Regions from separate parts of the Homo sapiens genome. Here all the other regions are linked to region 4. The links are contacts of gene promoters, found by promoter capture Hi-C in blood cells and fetal thymus (Javierre and others, 2016). All regions are on one chromosome and are shown on one strand. Each heading gives the region's core, a stretch centred on a gene start or on the middle of the fragment in contact. The rest is flanking DNA. Distances are from core to core; before and after follow the strand shown. Region 1 holds the start of UBL3 (ubiquitin like 3). Region 2 holds the start of SLC7A1 (solute carrier family 7 member 1). Region 3 holds the start of MTUS2-AS1 (MTUS2 antisense RNA 1). Region 4 holds the start of TEX26-AS1 (TEX26 antisense RNA 1).

The links. The method cuts DNA at HindIII sites, captures the fragments that hold promoters and counts their contacts. A CHiCAGO score of 5 or more calls a contact.
Region 1: a contact is called between the fragment with the promoter of UBL3 here and the fragment with the promoter of TEX26-AS1 in region 4, in 2 of 17 cell types (endothelial precursors and M0 macrophages). The highest score is 7.0, in endothelial precursors.
Region 2: a contact is called between the fragment with the promoter of SLC7A1 here and the fragment with the promoter of TEX26-AS1 in region 4, in 4 of 17 cell types (neutrophils, total B cells, total CD4 T cells and 1 more). The highest score is 12.9, in neutrophils.
Region 3: a contact is called between the fragment with the promoter of MTUS2-AS1 here and the fragment with the promoter of TEX26-AS1 in region 4, in 8 of 17 cell types (naive CD8 T cells, fetal thymus, total CD8 T cells and 5 more). The highest score is 12.7, in naive CD8 T cells.

Annotation. Positions count from the first base shown.
Region 1 is chr13:29,848,004-29,852,846 of GRCh38, forward strand. UBL3 (ubiquitin like 3) reads right to left here and starts at 2,614. Exons shown (of 5, transcript NM_007106.4): 1 at 1,509-2,614. The coding sequence starts at 1,535. RefSeq lists enhancers at 1,180-1,249, 1,720-1,789, 2,460-2,529 and silencers at 2,090-2,389, 2,660-2,769. The HindIII fragment of the contact is 5,102 bases long and covers 1-4,843 here.
Region 2 is chr13:29,592,366-29,597,055 of GRCh38, forward strand. SLC7A1 (solute carrier family 7 member 1) reads right to left here and starts at 3,323. Exons shown (of 13, transcript NM_003045.5): 1 at 3,051-3,323. RefSeq lists enhancers at 119-620, 621-1,120, 2,210-2,339 and silencers at 1,987-2,281, 2,450-3,689. The HindIII fragment of the contact is 14,376 bases long and covers 1-4,058 here.
Region 3 is chr13:29,486,166-29,490,569 of GRCh38, forward strand. MTUS2-AS1 (MTUS2 antisense RNA 1) reads right to left here and starts at 1,585. Exons shown (of 3, transcript NR_046378.1): 1 at 1,335-1,585. MTUS2 (microtubule associated scaffold protein 2) reads left to right here. Exons shown (of 16, transcript NM_001033602.4): 11 at 1,735-1,840. The HindIII fragment of the contact is 24,751 bases long and covers 1-4,404 here.
Region 4 is chr13:30,931,304-30,935,689 of GRCh38, forward strand. It overlaps TEX26-AS1 (TEX26 antisense RNA 1), which reads right to left and starts at 1,305. Exons shown (of 4, transcript NR_038287.1): 1 at 1-1,305. It overlaps TEX26 (testis expressed 26), which reads left to right and starts at 1,353. Exons shown (of 7, transcript NM_152325.3): 1 at 1,353-1,473. The coding sequence starts at 1,413. The HindIII fragment of the contact is 4,425 bases long and covers 525-4,386 here.

The sequences.
Region 1 (4,843 bases), core at 1,364-3,863, 1.1 Mb before region 4:
GTTTCCTTTGCATTCAATGGGAAATTAAACAAGAGCAAAATTCCTTTAAACCAAGGTCAAAATAAGCCATTTAGAATCATTTAATTTTTGTTATAAAATCTGTATATGAGGTTTGCTCCTCTAGAAACATCTGGCGTTTTAAAATTTAATCATCAGCAGGCTGGGCGCAGTGGCTCACGCCTGTAATCCCAGCACTTTGGGAGGCCAAGATGGGTGGATCATCTGAGGTCAGGAGTTTGAGACCAGCCTGGCCAACATGGTGAAACCCTGTCTCCACAAAAAAAAAAAAAAAAAAAAAAAAAAATTAGCCAGGTGTGGTGGTGGGCACCTGTAATCCCAGTTACTTGGGAGGCTGAGGCAGGAGAATCGCTTGAACCCAGGAGGCAGAGGTTGCAGTGAGCCGAGATCGCGCCATTGCACTCCAGCCTGGGCAACAAGAGCAAAACTCCGTCTCAAAAAATAAAAATTAAATTAAAATTAAATTAAAATTAAAAAATAAAATAAAATTTAATCATCAGCAAAGTTCAATTTGTTTCCACTGAATACACAAACACTCAAATGTTAACATATGTGAGCACAACTACGTTAACTTCAATTCTTTCATAAACAGGATTATTCCTCTTCCTGGTAATTAAATGCATTATGTTTGTCCTTAGGACTGCAAAATGTAACTTCACACTCACACAAGCCCAGCCCCAGCACTGTAAGGTTACACGGTTACTGTTAGTCAACCGACTCACAACCTTACCCTTTATAAACAAAACAAAGAAAGGCGTCAATAAACAACAGTACTTTTTGTTTCAAGTTCTCAACACTCAGTGATCGAGGCTCAATACTATGTTTCCTTAGCTTTATGTCTAATATGGAATCTACTATTAATAAATATCTGGCATTAAAAAGCCCTGGAATATTCATTGTAAGTACCAATACAGGGTCAGCCTACGTTTCTGAAAATCCCAAAATATCTTTATATTTCTGTTGCCATCCGTATTCAGACATTTCAAAAACCTCACAGCAAATTCTAACATACTTTTTCTTGAAGAGATGTGCATCCCTGTTCTTGAAAAATATCAAGTTCGTCCCTACTGCAATGACGATCTCGTCTGTGTCATAAAGCAAGATTCCCGTTTCCCTACCTATTCTCTCGTAGGGACACCCGTCCTCAGCTCTGCCCACTGTCCCTGACGTTTTCAGAAACGTTAAAATACTAGTGTTCGGAGGCTTCTAGCGAAGAGGGAGATGTTTTGTCCCCTCAAGCTACCATGATACATTTCCCTACTTCTCCACTATCTTCAATGCTTTAGAAAACACGACCAAATGAGAGAACCCATATTAAAAGCAGTACTTCCTAAAAGGGGGAAACCAGAAGCTCCAACTTCTCCAAATCGCTCAGCACAGTGGCTTTTCGACAGTCCCCAGCAAATCTTCGCCCCACGCCTGCCGTCTTTCCGATTAAATAAGATTGGAAACCACAATTAAATCAGTGTCATAACTTATCCGTCACTTACCATATCCGCCGGGACATTACTGGACATCTTGCCGTTTGATATACACCCAGATGTTTACGAAAAAAACAAACAAAGAAAAAAGAGCAGAAGTCTTCACGTTACAGAAATAAACCACGATTTTGACTGGTTCGTGATGTGCTTTCTCCCCCAAAAATAAAGTTATTTTGGAGCCAAAGTGCCGGTCAGGCCGAGGTTCTGGTTCGAAGAGGAACAATCCCCAGGAGCTGTGTGGCCGGAGCAGGAGGAAACTCCCGGGACAGCAGAGGCAGCCCCCGTCGTCGTCGTCGTCGTCAACAGCAGCAGCAGCCCCAGGACCGGCCGCGCCAGGTGGACCGAGCCGAGTGACACACGGACATGGAGAGGGGTGGGAGGGGGTTAAATGCGCCTTCCTCCTTTCCCAGCCCCGGCAATGATTCACACTTGCTCCCGAGTCAAGTCCTCATTAAGCAGGAGAAAAATGCCCCAGCGTGGATGTACACAGATAACTATGTAGCTACACATCGACGCGTGAGCCTTGAGTGGCGGCCGAGCGGTGGCCGGACGCTGGCCGCGGACCCTGCAGAGCCGCTGTCGGAGCGCCCGCGCGGACAGCGCGGGGAAACGGCTCAACTCGCGCCGCGGGGGCGAAGAGCCGGGCCGCGGAAACCCGCGCTCAAGGGCATTTAACTAGTTGGAAGCCAAAGCGAAAGACCGGAGCGGGGGACCGACAGCGCGGGGGTGCTCGGGGCCGGCCGGGACACTCCACAGCCCCTCTGGGCTCAGGCCGCGGGCGCCTCCGGACAGCAGCTGGGGTCGGGGCGCATCGTCTCCGGCTCCTCGCCACTCCTCTTCTGCCTCCGCCTTCCCCGCCGCCGCCTCCCCGGTCTCCGCCTTCCCTTCCCCTCCCCTCCCCGGCCTCGCGAGCTCCGGGCGACGCCGACTTCGGCTGGTCCCCGGAAGAGGCCGGGTCCTCCTTCTCCTCAGCCCGGGAATGGTTTCCTCTCAGAGCTTTGTTTCTCCTCCTCCTCCTTCACTTTTCAGTCCCACACGCCGCGGCCGCCTCCTGTCATCGCCTCTCAAACCAACATGGCGGCAGCGGCGGCGGCGGCGGCTGCCTGAGTGCGACTAAGGGAAACGGGGAGAGCACGGGCCCCCCCTCGCAGCAGCCGCCGCCCCCGTCCTCGTCCTCCCTCCGCGGACACCAAGTGCGTCACCACGGAGACCATTCCCTCGAGCATCACGGGAAGTGTAGTCTACGAGGGTGGGGGGGGGAGGGAGCCGCCGAACGCCTCCTCACCCAGCTCCGAAGCCACGCCCCCCATAGCAACAGTTGCGAGGAAAGGAAAGCTCCCTTTCCCTTGCTTTGGACAAGCTGCTGCCCAGGAGTTAAGTGATACCTGCTACCAGGAGTGCTGTGATCATGAGAATTGTTGGGAGAAAATAATTCTGCATAGAGAAATTCCCTTATGCACGATATGCACACAGAGCTAAAATATGCTGTACCTCCAAGCAGAATCATTCATTTTAATTACAGCACATTCTCCACATCCTGCAATCTCAATGCATTTTGTAGAGTGATTTCATCTAGGTCTCCTCAACATTACATTTTGAAGAACAAAAGCAATCATTGATTTCCAATAAGGTCACATAAGTTCAACAGGAACAAGGATCTCATTAAGCAGTGAGAATATTTGAACATGTGTTTCCTTGAAGACCCAGGGCAATAAAGCTACAATCTACTTAACTGAAATTACCAAAACTGTATTACATACAACAGTGTTATTATATCAAATCTGTATCAGGAAATAGCTACTACAAACTTCATGGGGATTCACCAGTTTACCCATCTGGACCCTAAATTCTATTCTATGTAACTCATAATGTAATTGAAAACCTATATGCCTTGCAGTGATTAGCAAATAGGAGAAAATAATGCCATTGTTGAGACACCATTCAGATGGACATTTGTGATTTCTGCATTTTGTTCCTAAATCTGAGGTCAACATCTGAATCCCTATTCATATCTCTTAGTCCTTTGACAGAGTACTTTAGAAAGGGCAGTCTCAATATGATGCCTATATATAAATGCCAATGAATTTAGAGTCTGAAAGCCACCTCTCCAACCTACAGCTGTGTGACCTCATCTGTAAAATGGTCTTGCCTACCTTCCGGGGTAAAGTAGGGGTAGTTATGAGGATGAGTTCATGCATGGGAAATAAATCACTTTGTAAATAATAATGCATCATTTGATATGAAATGTCACTACTCATTCTCTCATTCAGCAAACAAATGTGCCAGGCACTCTGCTAGGCACTAGGAGTTTAAAAATGAGTCACTGTAGCGAACAGCAGCATCATGTGGCAGAAATGCCAAGGTCTTGGGTTGGCAATGGGGGTTATTACATCCTTGTCTATAGGGCTGTTGAAAAGAGGCAGAATCCAGTCACTGTCCTCAGGGAGCTCATTGTCTAGAAGCCTACGTGATTCCCCACAGCAATCTCTCCAGTTGGGTTTCTCATCAGTTGGAAACCCACAGGACATTTAGAGTACCTGCCTCTTGAGTAGCCTGGGTGGAGAAATTCCAAACACTCCTAAGGGCCTATATCACCCTGAGGAAGATAGATCAAATTCTCCGAAAAACCAAAGGCCAGAAGAGAAGAGAGGCCCAAATCTCACTGTGATTAGGCTTCAGGACTTTGTCTAGATATTTCCAAGTCCATAGTTACGTGATTTTCCATGGCCTTTGTTACTTGGTTGCTCATTTGCAATGTTTAGCAACCACAGAGTCCCCCTACCCCTACACCAGCCCCCCAGGAAATAAGGGCAGGTGAAAATACTTCAATTGACCAATGAGCTCAGAAGGAATATTGGAGCACATTTTGAAAGCTCTAACTCACAGAGTTAGTCCCTCCACCATACCCTTGACTCCAACTTTTATCCAATGACCTCCCTGGCCATGGCACTGCCTGGCCATGGCACTGCCGGGCCTAAGTGCCACTGTAAGTAGAAAGGCAAGAGTTGCTGTTTGCTGCAGGTTACCACTGCCACCTTTACAAAAGGCAATGTCTTTCAAAAGTCGCTGTGTTTCCAATTACTCTTCTAAGAGGGGCTGAGACATTATTCTCAATAAAACTCATTATAACTCATCCCTAACATTGTTAAGGCATGAGGTAACATTATTGGACACAGTTGCAGATTTTTCCACTCTTTCTTTTCTCTTTGCTTCCCAGCTCAGGCGGGTGAGGTGGGAGGCTGTAGAAAGGAGTTCAGCTGTCCCAAGCAGGAAAAGGTAGCATCTTCTTGACACCAGGAATCTATTGTCAGCATCAGTTGGAAGAAAGTGAATGACACAGCATT
Region 2 (4,690 bases), core at 2,073-4,572, 1.3 Mb before region 4:
TTTTCTGAAGCCCAAGTTCCTGGGATGACCAAATCTCGACCAGTGGGCCAGGTAAATGGCATCCCCTGGGTCTGCCAACACTGCACATCTGAACGAATGCCTTGGGAGAAAAAGGAACACGGCTAGCAAGCCACCAAATCATTTTCCCAGTTTGATGCCCATCCTTCTGGTAATTCCATTTGGAAATGTACTAAGCCTGGATTGACAGATCATGACCCACACTGAACCACAGGGGTGGTTATTTTCAAGGCTGCTTTGTAGATGGGTATGGGAGTGGGGGAGGAGGCAGATTATGGCAAAACAGAAAGGGAGGCCACTAAAGTTTATCACAAGGCAGATAATCTGCCACAAATGAAGCTACTACTCTGTTCCCTCACGGGAAGAGAGGTCTAAACCCTGGGGTGGATAGCAGGTTGGCCAGGGATCTGATGCCTCCCCACCCGAGGCCTGGGAAACCTGAGGGTAGGCAGATGTCCTGAAGATCCAGGAATACCCCAGGACCTTTGAACCCCATGTATGGAGGGTCTCCATCCCACAGGACAAGTCCACCACCAGGCGGCCCACTAGAAGGCGGCAGGGGAGCAAAGGGAGGCCATGGGCAGCAAGGAGACAGAGGCTGAAGAGACCCCCCAGATTTGGCGAGAGGAGCCAGTAAAGCTAGGTGAAGGGGAAGGAGGCCAGCAGCCTGGACGGGTGGCTGCAACACACAGGCAGGCACCTGAGAGGGGCCCCAAGAAGATACATCTTCCAGCCCTGACCCTGGGGATAAGAGTTCTAAAAAGGTCAGTTGTGACTTTCAAAAAGTCCCTCTTCCATCCAACACGTTCTTTGCTCAGCCTTCCCATCTCATTAATACAGCAACTCCGATGTGCTTGGAGTCATATTTGACCTTTCTCGTCCTTCCATGAATCCACCGGCCAATCCTATTGGATCTGCCTTTAAAATCTATCCAGGTCTGCAGGGGCCAACTATACAGAAAAACACCACATCCTATCGGAAGGTCTTGCTTGGAGTGAGGACCAAGAGGCAGGTGGAGTGATAGGCATCTCTGAAGATGCCTCTGGAAGAGATAACTCCGAGACTCAAGTATCTCCAAGGTTAGAGGGAAACAATATTTTTCTCCATAACAAGGATGCACTTATTCACATTTCAAATTTGTCCCTAGGATTAATAGCAATCCCTCCAAATACATGGTTGATAATGAGAAAGGATTAATTTAATTGGACATAATTCTGAGCCCTCCAACATAATTATCTATTTGTATGGACTTTGGTTAAAATAAACTACAGACCAGAATAATCAATCAACACGTATTTAATTCCATCAAAGAATGAGTTCTTCTACCAAATAGAAAATTGTAACTCCCTGAAGTCAACAGTCTTGTCTTTCAAGCCTTTCTTTTTTTTTTTCACCTAAAGCAAGTAATCATATGTACAGGAGCACGTGGCTCTAGGATCCAGACCCAGACAAGGGAGTACATTTCTGATCTACTTACTAAGCCCTTTCCTCTTTACTCAAAACTCCTTTGACATCCTTTGAATTTTACCTTTATAATAATTAAACATGATCGTAATATGCTAAACCTATTTTTAAAACCATTTTAATCTATTGTTGACCTTTCCCCTAAGTTTCTATTCTGTTCGTGTGACTTAAATAAGACCTTTTGTTTTAATAACAGGAGGGTGTGTTCATATAAAAATCATGGTAATTTCCACTGAGATCAACTAAAAATACCAGAGGAATAAATGTATCATGGTTTCCTATTATCTGAACCAAACATAAAGGGCAAGAAATGTTAGGAAAAATCCCAGATAAATTATAATTCGAATTAAATACAATTAGGGCATTCGGCCAGAGGCCGACATACACAATTCTACTAGTCGAATGTAAGTAAGATAAAAGGCACATTCTTTAGGGAGATACACCTGGGATTGAAATCTCAACCATCTGGTAACTATGTCTGGACTAAAACCCAACACATGAGGGCATGGCGGTGATGACGTGAGTATTGGGAAATGTAGGTTATTTATTTATTTTTTTCCTGAAGGCACATGTCTGACTATCCTAGTCACACAAGTCAAACACAACTGCTGTCTGGTTCCCCCATCCCCTGGAAAGGGTCAGGAGCTGAACCAGCAGGCTGTTGTAGTACTACAGTGCAGCTGCCGCTCTGTGTACGCGCAGGTTTTAGAATGACTCTGACCTGCCCATGCCTGGGAAGTTTTCTACTACGCAGAAAGGAACACCCTGAGAATACGGTGTCTTGCTAAAGGCGGAAGAACTTCCTCTCATTCCAAACCATGTGGAGGGCTTGAGGAACCCGGCCTTTCCAGGCCACACTGGGTCACAAGGAAGCCCACCTAGGGGAGACTTCCTCAAAGCAATCTTGGGGACCCAGACGAGAGGTGCAGGCGGCGCGTCCCGGGTTCTAGGGACAAGCGGAGAGCCAGGCGCCCTAGGTCAGGGCGGCCACCGGGCGGGGATGGCAGCAGAGTCCCTGGGCCGGCCACCTGCCGCGGGACCACCCTCCGGGCGGCCGGGCAGAGTCCCCACCCACGGCTGATGACACATCCCCGGACCTCGTGGCGGGGCGGGGTGCTCTGCACCGCGCCATGTAAGGGAAGGTCTCCTCGCCGCCGGCGGGCTCCGTGTGCCTCCCAGTCTGGCCCCCGTGCCCGCCGCCCGCCTACGCACCCCGACCACCCCGTGCGTAGCGGCGCGCGGGTCCCCGGACAGGCGCGCGGAGCGGGCATCGCCAGATCGCCCACGCTTACTCACTCGGTGTTGCATCATGCACCACGCCGCGGTTTCAGGGAGCCAAAATGGACTCCGTGGAGGCGACAGTCGCATGGGCACCAGCCCCGCTCGCCCACTCCGGGGCCCGCCCGGCCCTGGTCCTGGCCCTTCCCAGAGGATGGCAGCGTTCCCGGCGCGGGGGCCCTCGCCACTCCCGCGCCGCCCTGCCGCGGCCCCACGCGGCGCCAGGGCCCCCTCCGTGATGACCCGGGCCCAAGGAGCTGCCCCCTGCGTTGGCGGGGCCGGGCACTCACCAAGCCGGCGGCGGCGGGGCTCCGGCAGGATCGCGAACAGACAGACTGTCGGACGCGCTCAAGGACCAACGGACGCTCGGCCGGCGAGACCGGGCGGGGCGGGGCGGGGCGGGGGCGCGGCGCGCGGGGAGAGGAGTGGAGGCTGCGGTTAGCGGGAGCCCGCGGCCGCGTGCGCGCCTGCCAGGTAGTTGACCCGCTGCTCACACCTGCCTGCGCGGACTGAATGGGCGCCGAGGGCTGGCGGGTTCCGGCGCCAGGTTTCATCAGCAGTGCGCCCGGCCCCCGCCCCTCGCGCTCCGCGCCCCGCGCCCCACGCCCGCCCCCGGACCAGGCAGCCCCGGCCCGCTCGGCCGCGTCACCGCCGGGCACCAATGGGAGCGCGGCGCGGCGGCGGCTGCCAGCCCAGAGGCTGCGGCCGGGGACCGACGCGCCCTTGGTGGGCGGGGCGGCTGAGTCTTCGCGCGCCCAGCGCCCCAACCTGGGGTTCCCGCGGCGGGCGGGCGGGCTGCGCCTCCGCTCGCCTTCTCAGTAGCTCCGTAGGCGTGTGGCCGTTTCTCCGCCAATCTGAGCGCACCGCGCCACAGCATCCTGTGGTCCCCTGCAGATCCCACAGCGCCCTGGCCAGAACTAGTGCTGCAGGTCCGGCCGTGCCAACCCCCTCCCGGCGGGCCCCAGGGAGCTCACACGGAACTCGAGACCAGTTTTCCTTCTCCAAAATAAAAGATTTGGTATGCACTTAAAAGGTTTAAACTGTTTTCTTTTCATTTTAGAGACAGGGTGTTACTCTATTGCCCAGGCTGGAGCGCAGTTCACCTTAACCTCGAAATCCTGGCCTCAAGCGATCCTCCCGCCTGGGCCTCCCAAAGCGCCCTAGGATTACAGTCCTGAAACACTGCACCGGCCTAAAAATTATTATAAATCTTCATGTCTTTGTTATTGGATTATTTTATTACTATTCCTTTGCCCTTGCTAATACCTTATCCTTGCCAGTTGTCAGAAGAGCCCCAAAGCTTGAATCTACCTGTGCCCCCTTGGCAGTGGCAAATGCACAAACGGCTAGTCAGAACGGCTCACTTTTGCAGTTACCCCCCAGGAAGTGGCAGAAGCTTCAGTCCTGAATCACACCGTGCTCACCTTTTAAGCTCCCTCCTTGTCTCCTTTTGTACCAAAAGCCAAGCGAGAATCATAATCTTTAAAGATCCAGTGATCTGGGACTTGGGATAGGTAAACAGGGCATAAATTAATAATGCCATCCTTCTTCTATCTTATAGGAAAACAGAAAAACAGTGGACGGTGTCCGTGGTCTTTGAATCCTTTCTACAGGTCCTTCTCAAATATCAGCTGCTGAACTATTCCCTTGGAATTAGACTAGCAATTTATAAAGTACATAACTGCATGGTGCTAGCTTCAGAAAAAGTGTTCTGTTGTTGTTGCTGTTGTCATTTGTTTGTTTTTTAGAGACAGGGGTCTCACTCTGTCACCCAGGCTGGAATGCAGCGGTACAATCATAGCTCACTGGAACTTCAAATTCCCAGGCTCAAGCCATCCTCCTGCCTCAGCCTCCCAAGCAGATGGAACTACAGGCTTGTGTCATCACGCCTAGTTAATATTTTTTCTACATATAGACACGGGTTTTTGAT
Region 3 (4,404 bases), core at 335-2,834, 1.4 Mb before region 4:
AATACGGTTTGATCAAGAATGGCCTTTAAATGGGAGTGAGCCATTGTGCACCACGTCCGTTCTCACACTGCGATGCAGCTTTCCTAATGCCATGGGTCTGCTGTAGGTTTTGCTCAGTGATATTTGTTTTAGTGGATGAAGTTCTCATTTACCATAAGAGAGAGAAGTCAGGATAATTGTTTGATGAAATTATAGTATGCAGAATGGGAAACCACCCTTTTTTAAAACAAATATATCCTCACGTGTCAACTTCACAGTCAGGCTTCCTTTCTTGGGGAGAGCCCTTTCTCCATTCAGATCAAAGGTTAGCCTGTGAATTCTCCCCCAGAGAAATGTGGGAGCCCAGAGGTGGCTGAATATGACCAGCTAGAAGCAATGTCTTCTTAACTGGGCCACCAAGGAGCTTCAAGACCAGTGCACATTTTCTAGTTCAGTGGTTTTCAAATGCCAAGTTTTGATGCATTATTAGCTTGTGAAATAAATGTAGTGGCCTCTAACTAGCGTTTTGTAAAACAAAGTAAAATAGAGGAAACATTTTTAAACCAGATTTTTCCAAATGGAAGGGGAAGTTTTGTTTTTGTGAAACTTTGGTTTTGGGTATGGTTGTGTGTGGGTGTGTGCACTGTGATATTGTGTACAATGGTGATTTTTACAGTGGATCACTGACAGAGAATTTGGATAAACACCGTTGTAGTGCATCCAGGAGAGATTTGCAATCATAGGGAGAGGTCGTTTTAGACAATTACTCCTGCAAGTCATACATTTGAAGTTAAAACAACAGCCACAATGACAATAACAAAAACAGTAAACCTGGTAGGCAGGCAGGTGAGGGGTAGGGGAGGGGGTCAGGAAACATGAAAATGAAGAATCCTGGACTGGACTGGCTGCACTACTTGCGATTAAACTGCTAGACGTGTTCCTGCAGCTGGGAGGCAGCAGCCCTTCCCAGGAGCACCACATTGCCTGAGCAGAAGGTCCAAGTTATAATCTGGTGGGCAACCTTATGTTTAAAAACAGACACACAGACCTGCCAGCCTCACCTGGTATTGGCGAGAGAATCCTAAGGTGTTCGTTGCTAGTCTTGCTTGGGGGAGGTGAACACAAAACAACAGTGCATTAGAAAGAGCCTCGCCTTTGGAGTCAGACAGACCTGGGTCTCACTGTTAGCTCTGCCATTTATTAGCCCTTGGGCAAAACGTTTCATATTTCTCTTAGCCTCAGTTTCCACATCTGTCAATTGGGCATAAAAAGATATACTTCATAAGGTGGCTCTGAGGGTTAAGTAGAGTAGCCTATCTCGGACAGCCTAATAAGTATTCGTTCCCTCCACTTACCTTGTGTACCGTAGCTCCCCCTGCCACTGGGAAACAGACCACCTCGTAGGGAGGACGCTTTTCTTTTCCTTTGCCGTCATCGCTCATAGCGGTGCAAGCGCGTGGACAAGCAGTGGGAAGGGGATGGTCCAGGAGCCACACTCAGGACTCTAAAGAGGTACCTCAGGCAGTGATCCCCTGCCTGGAGTTGGACCCCCCTACAAAGAGCCAGGTTGTGGCAGTGACCTCCCCGTGATTCCGAGGGCTGCCACATCACCACCAAAGTCCAGCTCTCCTGCTTCGGCACAAGGCTGTGACTTGTCATTGATGTTTTGGGTCACGGACCTTTTCCACTCACGGAATTCCACTTCTGTTCTCCAAGCAGCTCTCTGTCTAACCAGTAACTGCGACTCTCCTCCAGGTGGAAGATCTCACCGCCAGCCATGATGCTGCTCTCCTAGAGATGGAAAATAACCACACAGTTGCCATCACAATCCTGCAGGATGACCACGACCACAAAGTCCAAGGTAGCTCCCAGCCTCGTGTGCAGCAGGCAGGGGTGGGTGGTGCAATCCGAGCCTTTCCTGCTGCAGATGTGTGGAGCCCCCCTTCCTCTCTTGTCCCTCCTTTCCTGTCTTTCCCTCCTGGTGCATTTTTTCCTGTTGGCTCCTGGGAAAAGAAGAGATAGGAATTAAGGATCCAGGTAGTTAGCTGCTTCTTTCCTCCAATGCAGTTATCCTCAACCTTGATGAATACTGGAATTCCCCGTCCCCTGGGGAGCGGTAACAAAAGACCAATGCCAGCCTCAGTCCCACCCCAGGGATTCTGATGTCCTTGGTCCATAGTGCAGTGTAAACATCAAGATTTCTTAAGACTCCTTAGGGGATTCTAATGTGTAGCCACACTTGAGGGCCACTGTCTAAAGCAGGCATGGAAATCGTGCACTTTTTTTTTTCCTCTTTTTTTTTTTTTTTTTTTTTGAGACAGAGTCTCACTTTGTTGCCCAGGCTGGAGTGCAGTGGTGCGATCTCAGCTCACTGAAACTTCTGCCTCCTGGGTTCAAGCGATTCTCCAGCCCCAGCTGGAGCCTCCAGCCCGAGTAGCTGGGATTACAGGTGCCCACTACCACACCCGGCTAGGCTTTATGATGTTTATTGCCTTATAAAAACAAATGGAAGCCCCGGCATGGATACACTTTCTTCATATTTATGATGTTCTCCGGGCCACTGCAGCATCTGGTTGGATCGGGGTATCCAGAGCTTACACTCATAGACCACATTCACCGTGGGTGTGCGTTAAGTCTCCAGATCTTTCTTTCTACATTTTTGTAACTTTGAATTATCTTTGGGTTTTACGTGGGTCATAACAGCATCATTACTAAGTTCCAGTGAGATTTTCCTTTGTGAAAGAGGCAGCATTTTACACTTTCACATGCATTTACATTAATATGTACAGTTTATTTTTCAACTTTCTCTCGCTTTACTTTTCCCTCCCAGTCAGCTGGTTGTTAAAGTGTGTATTAAAGGCCGGGAGCCGTGGCTCACACCCGTAATCCCAGCACTTTGGGAGGCTGAGGCAGGTGGATCACCTGAGGTCAGGAGTTCAAGACCAGCCTGGCAAACATGGCAAAACCCCGTCTCTACCAAAAATACAAAAATTAGCCAGGCGCGGTGGGCTGGCTACACGGGAGGTTGAGGCAGGAGAATCGCCTGAACCCTGGGAGGCAGAGGTTGCAGTGAGTCAAGATTGCGCCATTGCACTCCAGCAACAAGAGCGAAACTCCGCCTCAAAAAAAAAGTGTGTATTAAAAGCAATGACAGTTAACAATACATTGATAAACTTTTACAATTTGAGAATTAGCATCAGAGTTTTTATTATTGTTAAAATGTTCTCTGTGAACAAGACCCAGTGTGCCATAACCAAGGTCTGTGTTATTGTCACCCTCAAGCACCACCCCCACTACCTCTGGGAACTATTAGTAAGTGACCAAGCTGGAGGCAAGGGATGGTATTTTCCTGGGGACTAGTTAAATGGATTGCCTCGGTCCTGGTAGTGTGTTTCACACTGAGAGTACTGGTCTCTACCCTCGGCTACACATTGGAACCACCTGGAAGTTTTTAAAAATATACTGATGTGTGGCTCTTACCTCTGATATTCCAATTTAATTGCTCTGGGGTGCAGCCCAGGCATCAGAAGGCTTTAAAACTCCCTAGGTGATTCTAATACGCAGGAAAACTTGAGGACCATTGTGTTAAACACCGTATTAAGCGTGAGACAGTGTCATGAGCTTGAAATAAAGAAATACATGATGAAGACACAGTTAGCAATGGTTTATGTCATCTTCAGAATGGATACTGCCTCTTCTTTTCCCTTGGGGCATTGGGATCCTTTGAAAACGCCCTGAAATCTGTCACTAGAGGAAGCTGGTCTCACAAGAAAGAACGTGAGTGGAAATGGTGCAGTGAGCCATGGTGTTGCCTTTTCTTTCTGGATTTTCACATAAATCTGGTGGATTTTTCTGACTAACGAAGTCTCACTCAGACACCACATTCCAGGTCTTTGAATTATAAATGATGTCAAGGCCATGTGCGTGTAGGTAATGGTAGCTAAAAAATTTATTATTATGGTCAGGATGCTGCTCTCGATGACTGTAACACTAATCATTTAGTCAGAGGCAGGCAGACCGGAAAGGCCATATGGTTCTCTATCAATGAAATCAACACAAACATTTCTTTTCCAAATGTAAACGTCAGCTATAACAACTGGATTTCTTAGTGACCCTTACCACCATTAGTTAAAAGATTTGGGTCAATGAAAACCACAAAGTTTTTCCTAATTGCAGCACACGCCACCCAGAATGGTAATTGTCGGCCTCCAGTACGCTACCATTCTGAGCATATGATGCAGGCCGATTAATGAGACCCTCTTCCCTCTCATTATAACATGAAAACAAATTGCTTGTGTAGCCAGAATGAGATGGGCTTCACCCAGCTAATAAGACTCTTCCCATCAGGAGGAAAACAGAATCCATTTGCTTAATAACTCTTACATGACATCTCTTTCTGCCTAACTTGCAAATTATTGCTGGAAT
Region 4 (4,386 bases), core at 55-2,554:
TCTGAGGTCTTGTATTAGAATAGCCCCTTAAGAATAAGGAACTGTTGTAAATTGCTTTGTAAACAGGTTGCCAGCCAACTCCAAAATGTATTTCCTGTCTTCTCTTTTCACCCAAGTGGGTAATAACTGTGTTGTAACCTGGAGACAGTCAGTAGTTACTAACCACCTAGTATGTCAAATTACCAGGTAAGGTTATCCAGCAAAAGGGGCTCACTGCACTAGAAGCCAACACTATGACACCAAGTTTTTGAGAAAAGGAAAGCTTCACATTGCAAGTTAACTTCTGAGGAAACAAAAGTCCAGTTCAAATCTGTCTTGTACTGGCTTTAGGGCAGTAATTTTATTACAAAAGGTTTAGGGTTGGATCCTGGGGTTAGCAGGTGATTGGTGGAAGCAAAGGGAACATCTGGGAAGTCTTCAGGCATGCATGGCTCTCTCTTCATGCTTCCTGGTGGGTCCCATGTGCAAATTTGGAGGGAGTTGGTATGAAACATGCAGTAGAAATTCAGGCTGTGACATCAGCAAGCTTGCTGTGCGCAAACTGCATTTGGCCATATTGATTCCGGCTGATTTCAGTCAGTTTTGTTATAAGCAGAGGGAGTTTCAGCAAATTGTTTCTTTTCTTATCTGCCCCTGAAAACAAGAATTTCTGTTAGTTATTGGTGTCTTTGACTCTTTGAAACAGTTTCAGTAGTTCCCAAGATATGAAGATAAAAGACCCCCTTCATCAGTGAAAACTCTTACAAGGGGATGAAAGACACAGCTTCCTCTATGAGAGCACAAGAACAATTAAATTGACCCTCACAAACACTATGGTTGGTGCCAGGAACGTGGCCTGGTGAGGAGGACAGTGTCACATCCTCCCTGCCCACTCCTGTTTCCACGCGTGCATTTCCTCTTCTGCCCCTCTCCTAAGCCAGGATGACCCTTCTGACCGCGTGGAACTATCACAGAAACTGCTTCCATTTATACCAGATGACTTGGGATTCAGTCTTCTTGCTTGGTTTTTATTGACTGCAAAAATCCATGACAACTTTGCGCACATTTGCTTAAGCTGAAAGCAAATGGATGAAAGTTTGTAGTTGAAAATCTACTTTCTCTTCAATCTCTTCCCTTTTTGCTTTTCTTAGGAAACATACAAGACAGTGGTCCGGAAAGCTCACTGCAAGAACTGTACAAATAATGTAAAAGTAAGGCATCCATAAGATCAAAGCCACATTTCTTTGCTCTCTGCACCCCATTCCCGCGCCGGCCAGGTTAAGCCTCCTGCGTGGCCAGCACCCCTTGGCAGGGGCAGAACTCCCTGGAACCCGATCCTTGTCTCCATGGCGACGCGTCACAAAGCAGCCCGCGGCTCCCGCAAGCGCTGAGATAGCTGGAGCCAGGGCCCCGCGGCCGCCTCCTGGGGCAGAATGGAACAGCCTGGGCCCAGGGCTCCGGATCCCTCTCTCTGCCACCACAACCTCCAGCCAAGTAAGACAGCAGACTCTGCCGGTCTGCGGGGCGGGGCTGGGGTCTTTCCCGGGGAAAGGGTCCTGTTGAGAAAAAGGGGCCTTAGTATTTAAGGGTGTGGCATCGCTCTTAGGAGTATGCTCAACTGAGGAAAAGACGGGGAGTCAGGGAGAATGACAGGGCCTTCATGACGCTGCCCCTTTTCAGTCCTTCGCATAACCTTTGCCAAATCCCCGCTCCCTAAAACGCGCAGGGTTTTTAAACACTCGAGGAAGTGCCTGGCTAAGAGGGGACAGGAAAAAAGGAAGAACTGGTGATTTTCCAAGGAAAACAGGGCCAAAGGCAAAGAAGAAAGAGAAGTCCTGGAAGCTCTGAAGAGAACAGGTCCTGCCTGAGTCCCGATCCCCATATAGGATCTTGGAAACAGCAAGGAAAGTGGGGGAAGGGTTGGCTGCTGAATGGAGTCCCAGCTGTGTCTGCAGAGGCAGACGCCCTCCCTGGGCTGTCGCACCAGGCTGGGAGCCATGGCCTTCAGCTGCCGCCTCTAACCTGAATTGATTTTTCTTCCACAGAGATTTTGTATTTCACAGAGGTAGTGCTTTTCATCCTAATTCTGCCCACAGATGCAGCAGGTTCACCAGTTCAGCCTTTTGGGTCTGTGGAGGGAGAACCACTCTAGCTGTGACGCTAGTGGCATGATTACCGTGTAGTCAGCTCCATCATAGTCTCTTGTGGCAATAATTGGCCATTGCTGCTGTATAGTTGGGTAACTGTGATTCCACAGTGGCTATGGAGCAGTGAAGGATTGTTCAAGTACAAATTCCCTAGAATTGTGCTCCCAAAAGAGTGAATGAAATGCATATTTTCATTCCAATTCATTCCGTTGTAAATTAAGAATGGAAAATGAAAATACTTAATTAGTGCAGAAAATATCTAATACACTCAGTTTCTATATGATGGGAAGGCAAACAGGAGAGACAGAGGAGGGAGGATCCCCTCCTAGCATCCCGACAGCACCCCTTTGGATGCTTCTCTTCCCTTTCTAACCACCCTGTTTTCCCACTGTCTCCCCATTTCATCCCCTTCTTGTCTGGGAACTGTTGGAGTCCCCCAGGATTGATCCTTCTAGGCTTACCTTCTCTTTGTGACCATATCCTGCACAGGGCTTCAAGTGCTGCATAAAGGTGCCAACAACTCTCTAACCTTTATCTCTGACTTGGACTTTCTTCCTACTTTTTCAGACCAGAATATCTAACTGTCTACCAGACAGTTCCATGTGGGTGTCACAGCAGGGCCTCCAACTTGACATGTGCAAAATCACACTCCTTGTCCTCCTCAAACCTTCCAGACTTTGAGAGTTCAGTTAAGAGGGTCCTAGCTGCTCAATTTAGAAGGGAAGGCAGCTTCCTTGAGACTGCAGTTTGATCACCAGGTCTCTTTGATTCTGCCTCCAAAGCTCTTTTTCCCCCAGGTGAATTCGCCCCTTTACCTCCAGGCTTGGGCCTCTAATGGCTACTCTGTGCCACTTCATTCCCCACTGCTGGGAGAGTCACCCTCCAAATGGTAGGCTTGATGTGTCCCCACTGCCCAGGTTTGGTCCGAAATAGGATGAGGTTGATGGTGACTGATGACTAACTGTTATTGAATAATTACTACAGATGGGGCTCTCAGGTGTTGTATTAGTTTCCTGTGGCTGCTATGTGTTCCCACAGACTGGTGGATTCAAACAACAAAAATGTATTTGCTCACAGCTCTGAAGGTCGAGAGCCTGAAATCAAGGTCTGGACAAGTCTGCACTCCCTCTACAGGCCCTAGGGGAGAAGTGGTCCTTACGTCTTCCAGCTTCAGGTAGCCATCGGCACTGCTAGTGATGGCAGTGGCTGCTGCCATCATGCTGGCTGCAGCAGGGAAGCACAGCTGGGGCTGCAACACTCCATGGAGCCCGTGGGAGCTGCCCCTTCTGAGTTGGGATGGGAGCTCCCTGTGCCGCTACAGCCGCCCAAACTGCAGCTACAGACCCAGGCCTCCTGCTCTATGGAGCAAGCAGGAGCCCTGCAGTCCTGGGCGAGGCTACAGCCACCCAAACTGCGGCTGTGGGTCTGAGCCTCCCTGTGCCTCTGAGCCTCCCTGTGGAACCCACGGCTGCAGACCTGGGCCTTTCACTCCATGAAGCAGGCAGGAGCCAGGGACAAGTGGGAGCTTTGCCTCTTCCAAGTTGGTGGGGCAAGAGCTCCCTGGTGCAGCTGCAGCTGCCCTCCCAGGCACAGGACCTGGGCATCTCTGCAGCCTGCACCCTTGGACTCCCCAGGAAGGACACCCTTCACCCATCCATCCCTGCAGGCTCAGGGGTATCTGATCCCACTGCCAGGCAATACCCCACCCACATCCCTGCAGGCTAAAGGGTATCTGCTCCCACTGCCTGGCCTCTCTCCACTGGCTCTGATCTCAGAGTGGGGTTGGGACCAAGCCCCAGGGCTGTGAATGGCAGCAGGAGGCAGACAGAGTCCTGGGTGGAAGGGGCTGGGGTCCCCAGTAAGGCCCCACCCTCTGACCAGGGAGGGCCTGAAGTCTGGGGACCAGGCTGCCAGTCAGGAATCTGAGTGGGGACTCATGCTGCCTCCTCCAGCCTGCGCATGGCCACCCATGGACCAATCAGCATGCACTTCCTTCCCTCTGAAGTCCATAAAAACCCTGGGCTCAGCCAGAGCAGGGAAGAGGACAGCAGCCAGAGAATGAAGAGGGCAGGGAGAGACAAGGGAACCCCCCGCTGTAGAGGAGTATGCTCTCTGCTGATAGCTGGAGATGATGGGGCAACTAGCTGCAGAAAGGAAGGAGTACCCTCTCGACTGCCGACAGACAGGAGCTACGCTCTCTGCTGAGAGCTTCAGAGACCTGCAGAGATCTCTGAATGACTTGCCTATGGAGAGGAGCTAC